Regions from separate parts of the Homo sapiens genome. Here region 2 is linked to region 1. Evidence: promoter capture Hi-C in human tissues and cell types (Jung and others, 2019). All regions are on one chromosome and are shown on one strand. Each heading gives the region's core, a stretch centred on a gene start or on the middle of the fragment in contact. The rest is flanking DNA. Distances are from core to core; before and after follow the strand shown.

Evidence for each region. Contacts are between HindIII fragments. The study calls those that stand out against the background at their distance.
Region 2: a fragment that was not itself captured here is called in contact with the fragment with the promoter of HPS3 in region 1 in 4 of the 25 tissues and cell types used here (aorta, bladder, hippocampus and 1 more).

What each region holds. Positions count from the first base shown.
Region 1 is chr3:149,127,503-149,131,217 of GRCh38, reverse strand. It overlaps HPS3 (HPS3 biogenesis of lysosomal organelles complex 2 subunit 1), which reads right to left and starts at 1,580. Exons shown (of 17, transcript NM_032383.5): 1 at 1,278-1,580. The coding sequence starts at 1,494. RefSeq lists enhancers at 1,039-1,538, 1,320-1,579. The HindIII fragment of the contact is 14,149 bases long and covers 1-3,715 here.
Region 2 is chr3:149,176,450-149,180,164 of GRCh38, reverse strand. CP (ceruloplasmin) reads left to right here. Exons shown (of 19, transcript NM_000096.4): 15 at 503-609; 16 at 1,534-1,750; 17 at 2,186-2,325. Among named protein-coding and RNA genes, the nearest start is that of CP, 44 kb to the left of the region's middle. The HindIII fragment of the contact is 9,435 bases long and covers 1-3,715 here.

The DNA.
Region 1 (3,715 bases), core at 331-2,830:
TGGTAACCCCACAGTTTTTAATTGAGCCACGAAATCCCAGGGTCTGGATATCACTGATCTATTTATTCAACTTTTTGTTTTTTTTTTTTTTTTTTAACATAAACTCAGACCCCAAGGTTTCTATAAACTCACACCGAACCAGCTGCGGGGTAGGGATTAGAGAGAGATCTCCAATCTTCCAGGTTCAAGTTCTCCACTTCATTAATAGCATAGCCACCAGCTTTTGCAACGTAAATACTGAACTTTACACCCATCTTGTAAAGTATGAATCGAAGGTAAGTGTATTAAAGGAATTATATGGTAAATTCTTCTGTAATCTAAAAGGGATCTAGTTTTAAATGTTGGATTTTTCTAAAATAGGATTCACCCACACAGTATTTCCTTGGTATTGCTTCACATTTCTGGTGTGAAAGAGTAACGGCTGCTCTTACAACTGTTTGTTTTTGTTTGTTTTGGGACGGAGTCTCACTCTGTCGCCTAAACTGGAGTGCAATGGGGCAATCTCCGCCTCCCCGGTTCAAGCGATTCTCCTGCCTCAGCCTCCCAAGTAGCTGAGACTACAGGCGCCCACCACCACGTCCGGCTAATTTTTGTATTTTTAGTACAGACGGGGTTTCAATAAATTGACCAGGCTGGTCTCGAACTCCTAACATCGTGATCCGCCTGCCTCAGCCTCCCAAAGTGTTGGGATTACAGGCGTGAGCCACTGCGCCCGGCCACAGATGTTTAAGAGAAGAGAGGGGGGCAGTCTGAGTTCTACTTACACACATTTAAAAATCAACACATAATGTGAGCTTTCAAAAACCGACCGGAAGTAGATGGAGGTACAGATGTGAAAGAACTGCCAAGAGTTGGAATAATTGTTAAAGCTGGGAGTACTTGGAGGTTCCGGGATACAGTACTAGTCTCCTTATTCCTACTTGTTTTTTTGGTAAGTCTTTGAAATCTGATGCACTAAAGAGTTTTTTGTTGTTGTTTGCTTAAGTATCCGAGATGAGTGGAATCCAGCCAGAGGCCTTTCTGCAGAAAACCAAGACGAAGAGATGTCAGCGTCTCCGCCCCGACAGAAGCAAGCTCATACCTATGCTTGCCGCGACAACCGCATAGCTCAATGCGACTTCAAGCAATCAGCGGCCAGACCCAGGGAGACCATCCGGCAAATTCCGGGAAGCAAGAAGTCCCATCCCTAGCTAGAGCTACAGCCCAGACGTTCGGTCCGCTAGCTAGGAGGCCTCAAGCTGGACCCCAGGCGGCCCCTGGCTCTCTAGATTACTCACCAGCCTCGCTGTAGGCCAGGCGCAACACCCGGCCCAGCGTGGAGAAGGCGCACCGCGGCTGGCACAGCTCCTGGCCGGCCACCGCGAACGCCTCCACCTTGCAGCCCGCCGCCACGAAAAGCGCGTCACGCCCCCCGCCACAGAACCGGTCCGGCTCCAGCTTGCAGGGCACCACCTGCTGCGACCCGAACGGGTGCAGGTTGTACAGCTGCACCATCCCGACGTCCGGCGGGATGGCACAGCCTGCCCGCCCTGCAGGGCGCCCGGAGACCCCGCGCTGACCGCGAATGTAGGACTACTTCCGCGAGCGAGCCAATGACGCCGGGTCACGTGAACGCCAGCCGGCCCCGCCCGCGGCTCCGCTACTTAAAGAGGCCGCCGCGGGGCGTGGCAGGCGTCGGGAAAGCGGTCACGCCAGCCTGGTCAGCCCGCGCTCTGGCGCTGCAGTGCTTTCGGTCTCTGCGCCTCCCACTCCGCCGCGCGAGCTTGCCACTGCTCTATGCTCAGTGGCCGGTGGGTGCGGGGACCGCTGGGTCCCTGCCTTTCGTCTTTTACTGCTTTGGGCCAGGCGGTATGTTTTGGCTTTTGAGTACGTTCTGACAATTCATCATCTATCTTGTAACATTTTGTACTTACTTTGAGGAGCGTTATTCATGTCTCTTCAGTAGTCCCTGAGCTTCTGGAGGATGGGGTTGCAAAAACTGAAATGGGGTGCAACTCGGGGCTAAACACTCTGAAGAGTTGCTTTAAAATAATGGAAATTCTAGAATAGTTCAGCTGGAAAGAGCAAAGCCTTGAACGTGCTTGGCAAAAAGATATTTGTTGAAAGAAAGAATCCATGGACTTCATCTTGTAGGCATTTGACAAAAGACTAGTTTGAGCCCCAGAGGATAGAAGAACTAGGAGGGAAATCCCCTGGCTTTCAGTCCAGTGCTCCTAAAACTATGCAGTAAATTATCTATTCCTGACATCTCAACGTGGAGTTCACGATCGCAACACTTTCCCTTTTCTAAAAAAATCAGATTTAGATAAAACAAGTAGTATAACTTTGTCCAGTTCACCTAGAAAATATATGTGTTAGCATGGATTGAGGGATGCTGTTTTATTTAGGCACACAGGGACATAAATGAAAGTGCAACATTTTCTTCAGTCAGTTTCCAGTTCAGAATTTGTAAATTAGATGCAATTGGATTGAAGTTAAACTTGCCTCCCTTTCCTAGGCCCTTCAGATGAATAAAGTACCTCTAAGTAATGGGAAACAACAGGTTCGTCAAACTCAGTGAGTTAGAGAAGTAAACATGGAGGTAGCTCAGGTCAGGAACTAGGGCTGCAAAAAATCACAGAAGGCTCCTATGGAAAACAACCAGACTAATAGTCCACAAGTTATTTGTTCTAGATACAAAACTTAAGAGCAAATATCAAAATCAATAGTAAAAAAGATTCCTTTCCACAAGTATCTGCCATATTATTCTTTTTGGCTTAATTTTCTTCTTCAAGACTTAATTATCCTAATTCAATTTTCTCCTAATGAAGACTGATATTAACTTTAGTGTAATTTCACCTGCATAAAAAGAATGTCTGTTTTGGAGAAAGAAGTGAGATTTGCTCAAAACCTGGAACCCCATTCCTTCCTAGAGATAGTGTCTTCTTCCTTGCTGTAGTCACTGCACCTGACTCATCTAAGATTCTTTGGGAAGAGACATGCTACCCAAGGGAAGGTGGGGCATGTGTCTGGTTTCCACGTTTGTCAGGAGCTGTGAGCAGGAGCTGCCCACTTGTATTCCTGTTACGAATGCAGGGGCAGCAATGGCACACCATCAATTCCTTGCGGGAGGTTGCATTTGTTTGCAAGGGCTGCCATAACAAAACACCACAGACTGGGTGGCTTACACAATAGATATTTCATTTTCACAGGTCTGGAGGCTAGAAGTCCAAGATAAGATGTCAGCAGGTATGGTTTCTCCTGAAGCCCCTTCTCCTTGGCTTGAAGATGACTACCTTTTTATTATGTGTTCCTATGGTCTTTCCTCTGTGTGCCTGCATCCCTGGTGTCCTTCCCTTGTCTTATAAAGATACCAGCCATATTAGATTAGGACCCACCCTTATGATCTTATTTAACCTTAATTATTTCTTAAAGGCCCTATCTCTATATACAGTCACATTCTGAGGTATTGGAGGTTACAGATTCAACATATGAATTTGGGGGGAAGACACAATTTAGCCCATAGCACATGCACTTAGGGTAGCACTCTGTTGAAAAGGGTTGTCTTGAGAACTTTCTTCCTTCCTTCCCTCCTTTCTCTCTCTTTCTTTCTTTTCTTTCTTATTTAAAGAGATGGGGTTTCGCTCTGTCACCCAGGCTGGAGTGCAGCAGTGTGATCATGGCTCACTGTACCCTTGACCACCTGAGCTCGAGCAATCCTCCCATCCCAGCCTCC
Region 2 (3,715 bases), core at 648-3,147, 49 kb before region 1:
AGCTCACTAAGGATGATCATGAGAGAGGACAAGGAAAGGAAGCCAATGCTGAAGCTGAGGGAATTACACAAAATAGTCCAGATACACACATGCAGAGATTACGGGAAAGGTGCCAGCCACTGGGGAAAAATCACTTGGTATCTGAAGAGAAAAAAGTATATTAGGAAAACACACTTCAAGCTAAGAAGAGATTGGTTGCAAAGTTTTTTCAAATTGTAATATTGAAGTACACACCTCCTAGCTTTGTGGTATGGCAAGTGGGTTATAGCTAATTTAAAATTAACCCAAAAAATGACAAAATTTTGTCTTCCAGTTCATCTTAAAACTAAATTCCTGAAAACAATCTTGAGTACCACAATTTTTAAAAACTAATTACACTGACATTTCCAGTTCCTGGGTCCTAGTTATCAAGGCTGTGTGTGTGTGTGTGTGTGTGTGTGTGTGTGTGTGTGTACAATATAAACCAAATACAACCAGATCCATTAACACTTGATGAATTTAGGTGAAACTCTCACTTACGTATGGAAAATCCCAGAAAGATCTGGAGCTGGAACAGAGGATTCTGCTTGTATTCCATGGGCTTATTATTCAACTGTGGATCAAGTTAAGGTAAAATACAAATCATTTGTTTTGTGACACTTCCCAAAATAGACACACAATTGAAGGAAGACAAGGTTAGTGTTTTCCTGTGGTCCAATTCTACGTTAAAATCCTAGGAAAATAAACTGTTTGCAATCTACTTTAGCAACTATGCTGCTACCTATGACACACAAGACAAAAATCTAACATTTCCTAATATGATACAGCTCAAAGGCCTTTCAAGATATTTGGGAAGTTTAGATTTTTGTCTTGTGGGTCACAGGTAGCCACTGAAAAATTGACCAAGAATGGCAGTATATTTGCATTTCAGATCCTTCATTCTGGTGGAATGAAGGAAGGCTTGGAGGGGGAAGAGACTGGAGGTTGGGAGGCCGTTGTAATACGTGAGGCAAATTTCAAGGACCTCTACTGTAAGGAGGGAGAAAAGAAATGGAGTCGGTTATAGATAGGTGGGTGAAGTGCCTGAGTGAGCCGGGGGAAGTAGCTCCTTGATAATTCAGTGTTCTGGCTCAAACAAATGAGTAAATCTGGTATTTGTGGTCCTATTTATTATTACACATTTCATTCATCTATGGATTTTTAGGGACTGCCATAGCGCTTGGCTCACACTCAAGAGTTCATGAGTTTATGGAACAAACCAACACTGTTCATTTGGGATTCTTTTAAAATCACTGCTCATTAGCTGAGCTAATTTTTGCCTCTGCAGACATTTCTGTTATGTCAGCATCACCCACATGACCTACCTACTACTCACCATTGTTCCAATTTAACTACTTCAAGTGAAAAGTTACTAAATTGGCAGTACCACATTGGGCAAAGTCTGTTACTTCAATTGGTCTCTCCAAAATTCCTGAGGCCCTGGGTGCAAAGTCTCAGTTCTCTGAAATCCTGACCTAATTCACAAGGGTTACTGAAGATTTTTCTTGTTTCCAGGACCTCTACAGTGGATTAATTGGCCCCCTGATTGTTTGTCGAAGACCTTACTTGAAAGTATTCAATCCCAGAAGGAAACTGGAATTTGCCCTTCTGTTTCTAGTTTTTGATGAGAATGAATCTTGGTACTTAGATGACAACATCAAAACATACTCTGATCACCCCGAGAAAGTAAACAAAGATGATGAGGAATTCATAGAAAGCAATAAAATGCATGGTATGTCACATTATTCTAAAACAATTTTTCTACTTTTTTATCATTTTCTCTTTCAAATAAAATTATTTTGGAGACCATTCATTTGTTTTGTCTTAAAATAAACCACTTCTGCCTCACTTTGTATGTCAGGTAGAATCCTGTTCAAAACAAAAAGGGGACTATGTTCAAAATCATTTGCTAATTTATTTTCCAATTCCAAAATCTCATTTCCTTTGAAATAATCCAAAACTAAGATTAAGGCTTTTGGTGCAAAGTGCCTAGAAAAGCAATGTGATATTATTGACTTTAAAGTATCCATTTCTCTCATTTGTAGTAAAATAAGTCCTATTACATCAAAAAGATTCTTTACATTAACCTAATAATCATATTTTCTTTGAAATAGCTATTGGTTTAAAATATCCTGAAAAGTAACATAAAACCATATGCTTTCCCTAGCTATTAATGGAAGAATGTTTGGAAACCTACAAGGCCTCACAATGCACGTGGGAGATGAAGTCAACTGGTATCTGATGGGAATGGGCAATGAAATAGACTTACACACTGTACATTTTCACGGCCATAGCTTCCAATACAAGGTAAGAGCTATCCATGGCAATTACTCTTGCTCTGTTTGAAAATGTTTTAATACAAGTGAAGAAAATATTTTCTCAGAGAGACTTATGAAAAAAAGCTGCAAAGAGTACAGCCGGTGCTTCATATCCGTGGATTCCCCACCCAGGATTCAATCATGGATTGAAAATATTCAGGAAAAAATAATTCCACTAAGTTCCAAAAAGCAAAACTTGGATCTGCTGCACTGAGTACTATGTTGAATCCATGCAAATGAAATGATATGTAGGCACTGTATTAGGTATTATAATAATCTAGAGATGATTTAAAGTATATGGAAGGATGTGCATAAGTTAAATGGAAATATGCCATTTTATATAAGGGACTTGAGCATCCATGGATTTTGGTATGGGGGCATTCCTGAAACCAATCCTCCATAGATACTGAGGGATGCCTATATAAGGCACAGCAATTTCAATTGACACACTAGCCTTTGTTACACATTGAGCTCTTCCTAGGATTTGCATTTTTAACTGAATTTTCATGGAGTTCTGCTCAGATTCCTGATTAAGGCAACTGAGCGGAATTGCTAACAAAGAGGGTAGGAATGTTCACATAATGATGGATGAGAGTAGAGACCACAACAAGACTTTATTATAACCCTTGCCCTGCCTGTTCTAAGTTCTGTATCTTAAATGGCCCATGGTGAGCAAGATCAGTTAGGTGACAAGCAACTGGTCTGTACATCTCAATCTTACTTCTATTCTTTCTCAGTACTGATTTCAGCAGAAGCCAGTGGCCCTCCTGGAAATGCTTTTTCCTTATGCTTTGGGCTAATTTAGAAAAGGCAGAAGTTATCAAAAAGCATACTGCAGAAAGCCTGTTTTGTTACCTGCATTTTGTTTTACATAGATATATTGTATTCTTAGTGGGCTTTCAATTCTATCCTTGCAGAAATAGACTATTGTCACCCAACTACTGTTTCCAGCCGAGACTCCCTGAAGTGCCTCTGGTTTTTGTCGTTTTCATCAGCCTCCTTTTCTGCTTCCTTTATTATTTACCTTGACTTAAAGCTTCAGACAAGCTAGGACAGATTCAGGCAAAAGTGAGGCTAGGGCTGAAATGGGGCCACAGCTGAGTTCCTTTTGTGTAGCTTAAGTGCTATGACAAACAGGCAAACCAGAATCAAGGTACAGGAGGTTTGTAGGTAGTCCTGATTGATGAATTCATTCTCATCACATCTTTCTTTCACACCCACTTGATGTGGATACCAAAGACTTATTAGGAATACAAAAACCACATTTTACCATTTGTATTAAACACAGAAACGAGCTCGATTTTTTAAAAACAGATTTATCCATTTTTTCAATATCCCTGAGCTGAACATTAACAAATGACATGAGTGAACTCTCATAT